Linked DNA regions of Homo sapiens: region 2 is linked to region 1. Evidence: promoter capture Hi-C in 16 types of primary human blood cells and fetal thymus (Javierre and others, 2016). All regions are on one chromosome and are shown on one strand. Each heading gives the region's core, a stretch centred on a gene start or on the middle of the fragment in contact. The rest is flanking DNA. Distances are from core to core; before and after follow the strand shown.

Region 1 (7,029 bases), core at 3,655-6,154:
TTAATAATTTGGTAAATTATATTAATGGCATCTAGTCCTTCAGATAATTCCTAAGGTTTTCATCCCTTCTTTGCTTAGGAAATTGGGTAACCATAGTCACAAGCAGGTAGAAGCAGCTCAGAGGCAGAGGTTAGCAAGGGCAGCACAAATTCCCATGTGCAAAGAACAGCTCCTGATCCTAAAGAACTCCACTGTCCAAGAAAATAATAATAAATTTGGAAAACTGTCTTTTAAATTATACAGTAAGATATGTTCGGGCTGGGTGCGGTGGCTCACAGCTGTAATTCCAGCACTTTGGGAGGCTGAGGCAGGTGGATCACCTGAGGTCAGGAGTTCAAGACCAGCCTGACCAACATGGAGAAGCCCGTCTCTACTAAAAATACAAAAAAATTAGCTGAGCCTGGTGGCGCATGCCTGTAATCCCAGCTACTAGGGAGGCTGAGACAGAAGAATCGTTTGAACCAAGGAGGCAGAGGTTGCAGTGAGCCGAGATTGTGCCATTGCACTACAGCCTGGGCAACAAGAACGAAACTTTGTCTCAAAAGAAAAGAAAAAAAGATGTTCAAAACTGGTAATCCCAGCACTTTGGTAGGCCAAGGCGGGTGGATCACCTGAGGTCAGGAGATCCAGACCAGCCTGACCAACATGGAGAAACCCCATCTCTACTAAAAATACAAAAAAATTAGCCGAGCTTGGTAGCACATGCCTGTAATCCCAGCTACTCGGGAGGCTGAGGCAGGAGAATCGTTTGAACCCAGGAAGCAGAGGTTGCAGTGAGCCGAGATTGCGCCACTGCACTCCAGCATAGGCAACAAGAACGAAACTCAGTCTCAAAAAAAAAAAAAAGGTATGTTCATACCATATTATCCACTTCTTTTACTTTCCAGAATTAAGGACATAATCATAAATAAGGACAAAGAAAAGCCATATATTTAAGGAGATAATATCCCCGGTACTGTGATTTGATCTTTACAAATTAAGTGAATATATTAAATTATCACATATACCCCAAAACTATGTACATCTTTTATGCATCAATAAGTAACAAAATAAATAAAGACAAAGATTTATGTGGCAGAGAGTTTACCACTGAGTTTTTATATTTTGAAAAAAACAAAATGTTCAAAATGGGAAAAAAAGTTAAATACATAGCACTACCACCATGAAATGAAAAGCTATGAAATCTTTAAAGAAACCATTTTTAAGAATTATTTAATGACAAAGAAATACATTCACATTTTGTTGGGAAAAAGAACACATATAAAATTACATACAGCTTAATCCCCATTAATTTTATAATCAGGAAAAAACATTTTTAAGAAAGCTGATTAGCATTGTATGAATGATAAACTTGGCTGACCACACTAATCTGCATTCTAGATCTGTACTGCCAGGAACTGAACAAAAGAAAATAAAGTGGGAAAATTTTATCACCTACCACGAAGGTCTAGGCATATTTGATTTACAGATTAATTTTCAGTCAGCCTCATATATTCCAATTTTTTTTTAATAAAAAGCGAGGCAGGAGTGTCATCCTTTTGGACCTTACGTGTGTCATTCTGACAATAGCTGAGACTTAAAAGCACTAACGAATATTTAAATCTACTCCACAGTTCCATTATCTTCATCTAAACAATAAAGGTAAGTCTACATTTTAATTCATTGAGGATGAGTTCAAGGTAATCCTGGAATTTTTGAGAAGATACTCCGAAAATTAGGGAGGAAAAATTTATACCGTATATGACTGAAATTAGAAGAAGTAATCAGAGGAGATTTTTATGGATCCTCCATAACCTAAAGTAAGGAAAAGACAGAAAGAGAATCTGGAACCCCATTTTGCTATGTGACCTTGGATATGTTCCTTAGCTTCTCTTAGTGCTAGTTCATTCGTTCACAAAACAAAGATAACTAACAACTTGCTCAAAGAACTCTAAAAAGTATTAAACTGCCAGCACAACGTTTAGCACACAGTGGGGAACTCAGGAAATAGTAGTTATAAATACTATTTTAAACAATAATGCAGCTGGATAGTGTACATTCTCAATTATATTAGCCCATCTAAAGTAAATCCCCCATCTAAGTAATATTGGGTCTAAATTCACTGAGTCCAAAGTGATCACTACACCATTACACCATTGTACCAATTACACAAGACTGGAGTCAATGAATGTATTGTTAAGTTCTTGAATGAACACAGGTATAAAATTATTGGGTTGAAAAGTCTTAATTTCAAACAGAGAATAAAAGGATGGAGAAAAAAGACTTTCCTGTTATTTAAAGAGCAAACCTAAAAATTAAAAAGACGTAAAGAAGAAATCAAATGGGGGGAAAAATAGCAACCATCCCACAATGGCATCTAGAGGGGATGAATAATTTACACCAGTCGGGGTCCAGTCTGGACAATGAAACTGGGAGGAAGAGGTTTTTTTTTTTGTTTTTGTTTTTGTTTTTGAGACAGGGTCTCGCTCTGTCGCCCAGGCTGGAGTGCAGTGGCGCGATCTCGGCTCACTGCAAGATCAGCCTTCCGGGTTCACGCCATTCTCCTGCCTCGGCCTCCTGAGTAGCTGGGACTACAGGCTCCTGCAACCACACCCGGCTAATTTTTTTTTTTGTCTTTTTAGTAGAGACGGGGTTTCACAATGTTAGCCAGGATGGTCTCGATCTCCTGACCTTGTGGTCCGCCCGCCTCGGCCTCCCAAAGTGCTGGGATTACAGGCGTGAGCCACCGTGCCCGGCCGGAAGAGGTTCTTATATAGGGCTGCTTACTTGTGATTCCCACTCATCATTCCTTATCAAGAAAATGATGACTGCAACATAAATCCTAATTTGAAAGAAAGCACAGCATCATCATTACCGTACCGCTATTTGTGCATATTAGTGTCAGTGACATGTCTCAGGTTTTAAATGACAAACTCAATTAAATGTTGCAAATACTAACTGGCGGATTAAATCTCTATAATCCAAGTATCCTAAGCCCCTACATAAACTCATCAGTTTTGAATATTTAATAAAATTCTGAACTTTGTGTTTTAGAACTGAAATGCGAGTTAAGTTTTACCTACCCAACAAGACTATACACTCTTCATGGTGGGGACCATTTAAAAAATTATATTATCACTTAAAGAGAACTTTTATAAATTCCACAATCCCGGACATTATGTTCTAACAGCATGTGTTAACGTATCCTCCCAGAATGTAAATACTGGTGTTTGTCATGAAATCCTCAGTGCGCCCTAACAAGAGTTTTCCTCTAATCAGTCAAGTAAAAGATGCTGGGTGGATGCAATCATGGCCATTTAAAAGAATGCTGGTATATATGTTTTGCAAATTACCCAAGAAGGAAACATTATAACAGGAATGAATCAGCACAAATTCATCAACACTAAAATATATGCATGTATTCGGCCAATGGTGGATTTCGCTTTATGTGCAGATTATGACACCTTTATGCTTCAAAATGAGTTTGGGATTGTGGGCGGAGGCTGGAAGGTTGACGAGTAAGGATGTGGAAAGCGGGTACTACCAGGGCTGGAGATTTCCCAGGGCTGTCACCGATTGAAAGTGACCTTATGTGCCTTAACAAAGGAAGTCATGAAAGCTTGGCACAGGAGCCTTAAAAGTAAGGAACCGAATACAATGCAAGTGTGCGCTGAACCCGCTAGAACAGGAGCACGTTTGAGGGCAAGGGTTTTTGTCTGTTTTCATCACTGCCACAAGGCAGGCGCTTTGAATGGAACGTGGAGGTCTGCAACGTATTCAGCGATACGCATTCATTTTAGGAGACAAGGGCAATACATATTGCCTAAAAATTTTATCGGAATAAACTACAGCGACGACACTACAAAATACTTCCATCTCAGGTCCCATTACCCAAGAGGAAAGTCTCAGAACCGAGAGCCCTGTGAAACCGCCTGTGCCCTCTCGGCGAGAAGTTCTCCAGTACTCCCAGGCTCGCCCCGCGTTTCCCCGGCTCCCGCCCCGGCGCAAGGCAGGCCGAGAACCGCCAGCTGCGCCCCCGGGCCCGGCCTTGACTGACGGGCGCCCCGGACCATTACAAACAACGGGTTTCCGAAGCGTGGGCCCGGCCCAGCGGACGCAGACGGCCCGCACTTACCGCGCCGCAGCTCGTCCCACAGCCCACAGACCACAGCCCGGGGCGGGGTAAGGGGCTTCGGGCACGAGTGTGGGCTGTGAAAACACGGGCATAAGTCTGGGCCGAGCACCGACCTGGGCGTCCCGCATTTTCCTCGCGCAACATCGGTCCCTGGGCAGCGCAACTGTAAGGACAGGAACCGCCGCGGCGCGCTCCCAGTTCCTTTTTTACCTCTTCCCGCCCGATTTGCCGCGCGCTCGCGCCCCTCCTCCAACCCCAAAGGACTCCTTCGGGGCTGGAAAACGCCCCTTCCCCGCCCCCTCCCTGTGCGCGTGAACTAGGCAGTTGTTAGATCTCGCGAGAGGTTCGCCCCCTAGCCGCCCCTCCCCCCAGCTAGTGAGTGCGCGAACGAGAAAGGAGGAGGGCGCTCCAGGCGACAGCACTGCAGACGCCATTATCCTCTGTTTCTCTGCTGCACCGACCTCGACGTCTTGCCTGTGTCCCACTTGTTCGCGGCCTATAGGTAATTGGAGTTATTGGAGCTTGGGTATTGCTGATTCGGGTAAGGGTTGGGGCTCCCTGAAAGGCTGCGTTTACTTTTCCCAAGCCCGGGTTTTCTCGAGCCCTTAGTGGCCTCCCAGCCCGAAGGGAGGCGCTGGCGGGAGGCGGGGTTGTCGCCTCCTCCGTCGCCTTGATTGACGTGGCCTCGGGCCAATCGCTTCGCCCTCGCACCATCGCTGAAGCCCTGGCAGCCAATAGGGCGCGACGGCGGGGAGGACGCGAGAAGGCGGGGGAGGGGAGCCTGCGCTCGTTTTCTGTCTAGCTCCGACCGGCTGAGGCGGCGCGGCAGCGGAGGGACGGCAGTCTCGCGCGGTGAGGAGCCGGGTTGGGGGAGCGGCTCGTGGAGGTGAGGGTCGGAGCCCAGTTTTTCCGCTTGAGGGAGGCGTCCTGGGAGCCGCTTTGGTGTTTGGCCGCTTCTCCGAGTGGGAACGTTGCCCGGTGTCCCCTCCCCCACCTCCGCCATTTCCCTGAGCGTGTATCCGCAGTCCGCGTTGTGGTCCTAGAGACTTGGGGATTCGTGAGGCATGTGCCTCTAGGATGAGCTGGAGCTATGTGGCACTGGGAACTAGGGACCTCGTGGAGGAAAGGAGGCCGGTGCGGGGAGAAGGTCGCGCCGCCGCTCTCTTTGTGTGAGCCCCGCCTCACCTTGGGTCTCCCGGCCCGGGGTCGGAGCTGGAGCGGCGGGGATGGAACGGTCAGGGCTGCCTCGATGGCTTTGTCTCGGGCAGTGGGGGGAGGATGCGGGGGATGAGACCTCGGGACCGCGTGGTGGGTGGGGGAGGGGGTCGGCGCTCGGCTCCGCCTAGTAGCACGTAGTCGCCATTACGCGGGCCGCCATTTCCTGTCGGATCCGGGTGAGGAGAGGTGCGGTGCTTCTGCTGTCGACTTTCGCTTTTTCCCGTCCTGTTACCCGGCTGTTTTTGATCTCGGTGCCGGGAGGCGGGGAGGGGAGGGCGCGTTGGCGCTCGGCCAGTGGAGCACATACTTAGCGGATTTTTGAGGCCTGGGGACTAGTGACTGCAGGACCCGAAGGGTGAACGGCAAGCGGCAACGTTATTCTTACAGATAAGCCCTGCTGTTTTTGCTTAAACTTTCTTATCCAACTCTTCTCCCACCACACCTCAGAAATTGCGTGCTGGGCCGGAAGGATGTCGTTTCAGTTGTCGTTAGGAGAGCAATAAGTCGACCAACGGTATGGGAGAATGGGAGGCATAAATGTGCCTCGCTTGTTGGCTCTTTGCTGTCTAGCCAACCTTCTAGTAGAGGCCGCTTGTCAACTCCTAGTCCCGACAAGAGGGAAGCTTAAAAAGGCTGTTTGTAGTCCTATCGACCGTTTTGGCACGTAGACACTTTAGTTTTCGTGTTACAGGCATGATTGTTGTGTTGTACTCCCTTAAGCCTAATTTAAAATAATCCGCTAGTGACTGTTAGTTTTCAAGGGCTCCATTTGTTTCGCTGATTAATAATAGACTGGTATTGTGGTAGTTTGGGTCTGGTCCTATATTAGATTTTTGGATTTATCCCTCCGGTAGATTGTTCTGGTTGTTGGATGTGTTCGCAATTGCCGTTGTATTTGTAAACTTTAGAGATGTCACATAAGATCGCTTCAAGCATGAGTCGAAAGAAATAGGAAAGCAATTGGAAGTTTTAATATAAAATTAGTTTTCCCAGTGAATAAGATGCATTGTAACTTTTCATAAATGTATGCTTTGTGGATGACATTTATCTTTTCAGGGTTTTGGGAATGTGCCGTATAAAACAATTCATTGCTGTGGTGGGACTTAATCCAGTGGCTAAAAGTTATTGTTCTAACTTAGCAAAAAATGAAACCAGGCTCCCTTGAATTTTGTATTTTTTAGGCAGTCATTTGAATTGTGAAACCCTAAAATGAAGAATCAAGTTTTAGAAACAGCTGGTTTTTTGGGTTCAAATCAGTATTCACTGTGATCGGAAACAAATATTCAGTAATAAGAATAAACAAAAGCAAAACTGATTTGTGTTGGTTCTTATAGGCTACTGCAGCACTGGGGTGTCAGTTGTTGGTCCGACCCAGAACGCTTCAGTTCTGCTCTGCAAGGATATATAATAACTGGTACGTTCTAGAAGCAATGTCTTTTTTTTTTTTTTTTTTTTACAGCTTGCTTTCCAATAAGCCAAATGTACTAGCTGCTTTATTTTTCCACAGATTGGTGTGCCCGTTTAATAAAAGAATATGGAAACTGAACAGCCAGAAGAAACCTTCCCTAACACTGAAACCAATGGTGAATTTGGTGAGAAGAAATTTTAGTTTTAACAGTATTTTTTTATCCTGTTAATAAATTGCCTTTTTCTGTTAATTATTGCCTTAGGAGTGTGTGGTGAATTTTTGGTATTAC
Region 2 (7,029 bases), core at 2,654-5,153, 5.3 Mb before region 1:
AGGTTTTAGTAAGATTATTACGGTTTACATTGTGTTCATTATTGGATATCCTCAATAGGGCTCTTGATTAACATCGCATAATTGAACACTGCCAGCATATTACACGAGTATAGTTTATTATTACTATAAGGTTAACACAATCTACTTGAAATTTACCTACAGCCAGAAAAACATGCTATTTTTCTAGCTAGGAATACAAAAGGGTGCAATTACTACTACCCATAGAAATATTCAGTAGTCCTCATGTGAAAACAGACTTCCATGCTACTAGGGAGGGGGAGAAAAAGAGAAACCACCCACTGTTTTGTTCTTTCTTCCTTAAATAGCATTCGGAGAAATCTAACCTACAAAGGCAGCAGACAGAAAACAAGGTCACAATTTGGCCAACGATGGCATGGGCTTTATCTCCCCTAAATCTTGGTAGTATCCCAGAACGCAGCGTTCTAGTCGCTACCTAGTTAAGAAAAAGGGGTTGACTGTTTTCTGAAGCCACGCCCTAAATGAAGTGTCCCGCATACAGTAAGGACAACAAATTTTAAATGTCCCTACTCGCTTTCCCCCAATCTACTTTAATTGGGGGGAAGGGGACAGGGACATTTAAAATTTGTCTAATTTTACTGATCGATTACAGCCACCATGTTCTAGTACGGTGCTTCAGGACTCAAACGCAAAAGTTTCTCAAAGCCCAAAATTTGGCCAGTGTATACTAGCAGAAAATGATGCCCAAAGTCCACTCAAGTTCTTAATCGGCCTTAAAATGAAACTCCTTTAATAATACCCTCAATTGTATGACTGCGGCTAACCTATAATGGCCCAAATCACCATACCCAGTAAACATTTTCGAATCCCCATCAAGCTCATTTTTCGGGGGGTCGCCTCCAAAGCTTATTCTTATACCACTCACTTCAAAAACAAGAAAAAGAAAAGTGTTCCTCTGTGTTAACAGATGAAAATGACCATTTGACCATTCTAAACCACAAACTAGTAAAAGCTGCATCACCCCGTCAGCGACAGGGAAAGTGTGTCACGGTTGCTAAAGGAAAAAGGACGGCACCAGGTGGGTTTTCCTGGACTGGTTCAAAGAACTGGAACTGAGACCAGCTACTGAACGGCCTAATTACTTCGGCCACGGCCGAGAAAAAAGTGACGGGATGGTCACTCCGCGTCGCCGAGGACCCCATGACCCCCAAGTTGCGCCGGTTCCTACCCAGGTACTAAATGCGGCCCGGTGGGCACTCTTCCCTCACCCTCCGCGCACACCGAACAAAGGCCCAACCGGCCCGGCGCGGCCAGGCACCCAACCATGTCCGACTGCGCGGGGCGCCAGGTGGCCGCGACCCCAAACCCCGGCCCTCGCCCTCCGGCCCCGGGCTCCGCCCCCCAGGCCCCGGCCCCCACCCCCGACCCTACTATGCCTGGGTCGCCCCGCCCGCGGGGGCCCCGGCTGAGGGAGCCGGCTCGGGGTCTAAGAAAGGCGCCCACCGGTACTCGTAGTGTTCGTCGAAGTACTTGTCCGAGTAGTAGATCTGCTTGTGGGCCATCCTGCTGGCGCGCTGCAGAAAATGAAACGAGAGCGCGAAGAGCGGGCGCAGCAGACAAAACCACGTCCAGCCCAGGCAACAACTCGCCGGAGACTAACGACCGCAGTCCCAACGATCCGGATTTGAATCCGACAGCCCGCCGCCGATTGGACAGCAGCGCCGACCAATCACCTTCTGCGGAAGTCGGCCGGCTGCCAGCCTATCGTCGCCGCCGCCTCGCAAAGTCCGCTTCCTGGGTCAGCCAATCAGAGATCTGTTGCGAGGTTGCCCGAGGGAAGATAGGTACGTCACGGGGGTGGCAGGGCCCTTAACGGGCAGGGGCGTGGCCAGAGGAGGGCGAAGTCGGGACGTTAAGGGCCGCAGAGCGCGTGCGCAGGAACGTGGAAAGTTCCAGGACACGGAACCGTTGGGACGGAGGACCTGAAGGTGGAGTGAGGTATCACGGGGTTTGGTGATGACGTAGTCGGTCGAGGCCGGAAGCGTGGGCCACAGGGCTTTGAGCGGAAGCTGTCGACCTTGCACGGTGATGGCGCTCCTCGTGATCCCTTGTATCCCCTCAGGCTCGAGCCAGGAGCCTAGGTCCACTTTGAAAAGTAGTAAAAGGCAGAAAGGTTCTGCGGTGTGAGGGGGAGGGCGGCTTCGTGGTCGGCTGGGTCGGGGGAGCGCCGGGCGGCCGCGGCGTGGCTGTGTCCGGGGCTGCCCTGCGCAGCCGGCCGTTTCGCCGCCTGGTGCACTTGCTGAGCTTCCGGCCTGGCCCGTCGCGGGGCTCCTGGCGCCCCCCTAGACGACTGTGTGGAGAATGGAGCCTGCGGAGCCACGCGTAGAGAGAGGCCCGGAGCCGGCGCGGTGGCGGCGGGCGCCAGTGGTCCCAGCCACTCGGGAGGCCGAGGTGGAGTGTCGCTTGAGCCCAGGAGTTCCAGACAGGCCTGAGCAACAGAGCCAGACCCCGTCTCCACAAAGAAAGAAACAAATGGGCCAGAGACCCAGAATGCTTTCTGTAGCCTAACCTAATGTTCAAAACCAGGGCAGACCCAAGCCATGGAAAGCTTGAGGGAATAAAATAATATTCTGCTGCGGCCAAGAATAACAATGCTAATTCCTGGATAAGGGGATTTAAAATGATGTTTAACAACTTCTGGTCTTTTAATATTGACCCAAGTTTAAAAACATGTTCATATAAAAAAGTTACTGGAAGAAATTTATAAATGTAACTGGTGGTTATTTTTAGATGACAGAATTAAAAGTGATCTTTTTGGTATTTTTTCCACAACGAGCACGTGTCATTTTTATGTTAATTTCATTTTATGCGAAATGCTCCAGCGCAGTACAGGCTAGTGGGTTCAGGGTGGCTGTGACTAAGTAATGTAGATGGGGTACCTTAGACAAAGTTTCCAGACTAGAGGCTGGAAGTAAGAGGTCCGGGTGCCCTTTTCCACACTGCAGACCACGGACTTTTCCGGTTTCTGAACAAGTGAGACAGGCCGGCTAAGGACATTTATAATCTCCATGGGTGAGGGCCCCACCCTCATGACCATCTAATCTTGATTACCTCCCGAAGGCCCCACCTCCTAACTTCCTAATACAATCACTTCTTGGGGGAAGAGGGTGTTTGGAATTCCACCCCCCGCCCTTTTTTTTTTTTGGAGACAGTCTCACTCTGCTGCTCAGGCTGGAGTGCAGTGGTGTGATCTTGGCTCACTGCGACCTCCCCCTCCCAGGTTCAAGCCATTCTGCCTCAGCCTCCAGAGCAGCTGGGATTACAGGCCCAGCTAGTTTTTGTATTTTTAGTAGAAACGGGTTTTCATCATTTTGGCCAGGCTGGTCTCGAACTCCTGACCTCAAGTGAACTGCCCGCCTTGGCCTCGCAAAGTGCTGGGATCGTCAGAGGCAAGTGAACCAGAGCACCTTCATCTTAAACAGGAGCTGGGTAAGATGAGCCTAAAACCTACTGGGCTGCATTCCCAGACAGTTAAGGCATTCTAAGTCACAGGATGAAATGGGAGGTCAGCACAAAATACAGGTCATAAAGACCTTGTTGATGAAACAGGTTGCAGCAAAGGAGCCAGCCAAAACCCACCAAAACCAAAATGGCGAAGAGAGTGACTTTGGTCCTCACTGTTACACTCCCACCAGTGCCATGACAGTTTAGAAATGCCATGGCAACATCAGGAAGTTACCCTACATGGTCTAAAAAGGGGAGGCATGAATAATACACCCCTCGTTTAGCATATAAGCAAAAAATAACTATAAAAATGGGCAACCAGCAGCCCTCGGCTGTTCTGTCTATGGAGTAGCCATCCTTTTATTCCTTTACTTTCTTAATAAACTTACTTTCATTTTGCACAGTGGACTCACCCTGAATTCTTTCTTGCACGAGATCCAAGAATTCTCCCTTGGGATCTGGACTGGACCCCTTTCCTGTAACAGAATTACAGGTATGAGCCACAACACCCGGCCTGGAATTTCCACGCATGATTTGGTGGCTGGGAGCAGACACAAACATTCGTTCATACATGATAGAATCCTTCAGGTCTCAGATTAAGCATTTCATCTTCTGAAAGGCCTTCCTTAATCAACTTCTCTACAGAAAGTTCTTCAATTTCCCCATTATGCCCTTGCCACCGACTCCAGTGGGCTTCCCTCCCACTGTCGCAATTGCATGTTTGCTTAGGTGGTGGTTGTCTCCCTATCTGCGCTATAAAATACTCTCTGTTAGTGAGCCAAGACTGTGCCACTGCACTCCAGCCTGGGCGACAGAGCGAGACTCCGTCTCAAAAAAAAAAAAAACAACTCTGTGAAGCTAGTGTAGAGGCCATGTCTGTCTTGTTCACCACGGAGTGCCTAGCACATAGCAGAGTTCCTTGCACATAAGCACACAATAAGAAGTAAATTTTAGGCACAGTATAATAAGAGTAAATAATTAGGTATAATTACTATGATGGCAAAAATGTGAATAAACTGTTAAGGAAAATGGACAAGGAAATTACTTTCTGGCAGAACCTGGGGGAAAAAAACTTCCTGGGAGATATATTTTTAAATAAATGTATAGATGCTCCTTAATTTACAATGGGATTACATCCTGACTAGTCAAAAAAATTTTAAGTTGAACCATTGTAAGTCAAGGACCATCTGCACTGTGAAAAGTTCAAACACATGGAATAATAGAATCAACTCCCATGTACAGGTTGTGCATCTTTAATCTGAAAATCTGAAATGCTCCAAAAGTCCAAAACGTTGAACAACACTGACATGAGCTCAAAGGATATGCTCATTGGAGCACTTCAGATTTCAGATTTTCCTATTAGAGATACTGAACTGGTTAACAAAATGCCCATATTCCAGATTCCAAAAAACCCTGAAACACTTCTGGTCCCAAGTGTTTTGGGTAAGGGATACTCAACTTGTTCCAGTCATTTAGCTTCAGCAATTACCGTTTGCCAATCATGTTTCATCTGTTCCTCTCTAACTTTTTTTTTCTAGAATATTACTGAAGAGATCTCAGATATGTCAGTTCACTCCTAAATAAAACTTTTCAGTGTATCTCTGTGTTTATGGTGTGCATCTCAGGAAAATTTTTTAAAAAATGCATAACCACATCATACTTACGCTTAGACGTCCTTAATACTCTTTGATAGCTGTTTTAGACTCACATTTCCCTGACTGCCTCACCAAAGCTTTTTATAGTTTGTTTAACCCTGCTTTCAAACTTGGGCCTACATCTTGCATTTTGTTATTGTCTCTCTTTTTTTTTTTTTTTTTGAGATGGAGTTTCACTCTTGTTGCCCAGGCTGGAGTGCAATGGCGCGATATCTGCCCACTGCAGCCTCTGCCTCCTGTGTTCAAGCAATTCTCCTGCCTTAGCTTCCCAAGTAGCTGGGATTACAGGTGCCCTCCACCATGCCCAGCTAATTTTGTATTTTTAGTAGAGATGGGGTTTCTCCATATTGGTCAGGCTGGTCTTGAACTCACGGCCTCAGATGATCCGGCTGCCTCAGCCTCCCGAAGTGCTGGGATTACAGGCGTGAGCCCCCGCACCCGACCACATTTTGTTATTGTCTCTTTTAGTCTTCTTTAAACAACCCCCCAACCTCTACCTACATAGACACCCTCCCCACACACACCCCTGCCACCTTTTTTAACATCTGTTCATCAAACCAGGTCATTTTTGCCTGTGGAACGTTACACATTCTGGATCTGTGTAATTGTTTCCTTGTGGTGCAGTTTCCCTGGTTTTTCTATTTCTTGTATTTGTTACAATCTGGCATTTAGATCTAGGTTAAAACAAAACAAAACCATTTACCAAAAATTCCTAGTAAGTGGCAGACTCATATTTGAGCCCAAACTGTCTGACTCCAGAGTTAGGCCTCTTACCCACTATTCTGTTCTGTCTCTTAGAGTTCCACAGGTAGAAAGCCAGGAGGGCCAAGCACCTTTCCAAAGGAAGGATTGGTAGTTGTAAAGGTGTGAGGAAGTGTGGTACACACAGAAAATGCTGAATAGGTTTGGCTTAGATTGTAAAAGTCATGGAAAGGAAAGTTGTGGGAAGTGAATGTAGGAGGATGAATGTGGTAGAAAAATGGCCCCCAAAGATGTCTGTCTTAGTCAATTTTATGTTGGTATAAAGGACTACCACAGCCTGGGTAATTTATAAAGAAAAGAAATTTATTTCTTACCATTTTGGAGGCTGGGAAGTCAAAGGTAGAGGGGCAACATCTGGTGAAGGCCTTCTACTGCATCATAACATGGTGGAGGGCATCCCATGGAGGGAGGGCAAGGGCCAGCCGGCTCAGGTGTCTCTTCCTCTTCTTATAAAGCCACAGTCCCGTCATGGGAGCCCCACCCTGATGACTTTAATCTTAATTACCTCCCAAAGGCCCCACCTCCAAATACCATAAACATATAAATTTGGGGATTAAGTTTCCAACACGTGAAATTTGGGGGACACATTCAAACCACAGCAATGCTCATATCCTAATCTTTGGTATCTGTGAATGTTACCTTACACAGCAAAAGAGACTTTACAAATGTGATTAAATTAAGGATTTTAAGATAGGGAGATTATCTTGGATTATCAGAGTGGTCAAATGTTATCACAGGGGGCCTTAGAGGAGGGAGACAGGAGGGTCTGTAAAGGAGCTGGGATAAAAACAGAAGTCAGAGTAATGTGACCACGAGGCAAGTGCTGCAGGTGGCTTTTTGAAGCTGGGAAAAAGAAACAGATTTCTTCCCTAGAGTCTCCAGAGTGAACTCAGTCCTGCTGACATAATTTTAGCCTAGTCAGACCTATTTTGGACGTCTGACCTCTGTACCTATAAACTACATGTGACTAATAGAATAGAAACAATATCACAGTGTGATGTTCGCTGCAGCTTTGTAATTGTAGATGCCCTTTCTCATTTTAAAAATTCTTTTATTCCTAGCTTGCTGAATTTTGATCAAAAATAGACACTGTATTTCATCAAATGCTTTAAAGCCTTTCAGTTTTATA

Evidence for each region. Contacts are between HindIII fragments. The CHiCAGO score rates a contact against its expected background, and 5 or more counts as called.
Region 2: a fragment that was not itself captured here is called in contact with the fragment with the promoter of HNRNPK in region 1 in 3 of 17 cell types (total CD4 T cells, naive CD8 T cells and activated CD4 T cells); the score reaches 13.2 in total CD4 T cells.

The regions. Positions count from the first base shown.
Region 1 is chr9:83,978,090-83,985,118 of GRCh38, reverse strand. HNRNPK (heterogeneous nuclear ribonucleoprotein K) reads left to right here and starts at 4,904. Exons shown (of 17, transcript NM_031263.4): 1 at 4,904-4,966; 2 at 6,667-6,746; 3 at 6,840-6,924. The coding sequence starts at 6,867. It overlaps RMI1 (RecQ mediated genome instability 1), which reads right to left and starts at 4,314. Exons shown (of 3, transcript NM_001358291.2): 1 at 4,228-4,314. RefSeq lists silencers at 3,901-3,980, 4,791-4,930 and enhancers at 3,625-4,133, 4,191-4,280, 4,301-4,370, 4,501-4,560, 4,134-4,641 and 2 more. The HindIII fragment of the contact is 2,357 bases long and covers 3,601-5,957 here.
Region 2 is chr9:89,305,805-89,312,833 of GRCh38, reverse strand. It overlaps LOC105376136 (a long non-coding RNA gene), which reads left to right and starts at 2,032. Exons shown (of 3, transcript XR_930101.4): 1 at 2,032-3,468; 2 at 3,888-3,976. CKS2 (CDC28 protein kinase regulatory subunit 2) reads right to left here and starts at 1,639. Exons shown (of 3, transcript NM_001827.3): 1 at 1,483-1,639. The coding sequence starts at 1,541. It overlaps MIR3153 (microRNA 3153), which reads right to left and starts at 609; the gene lies at 528-609. RefSeq lists enhancers at 1,084-1,133, 1,804-2,093 and a silencer at 2,104-2,333. The HindIII fragment of the contact is 2,628 bases long and covers 2,590-5,217 here.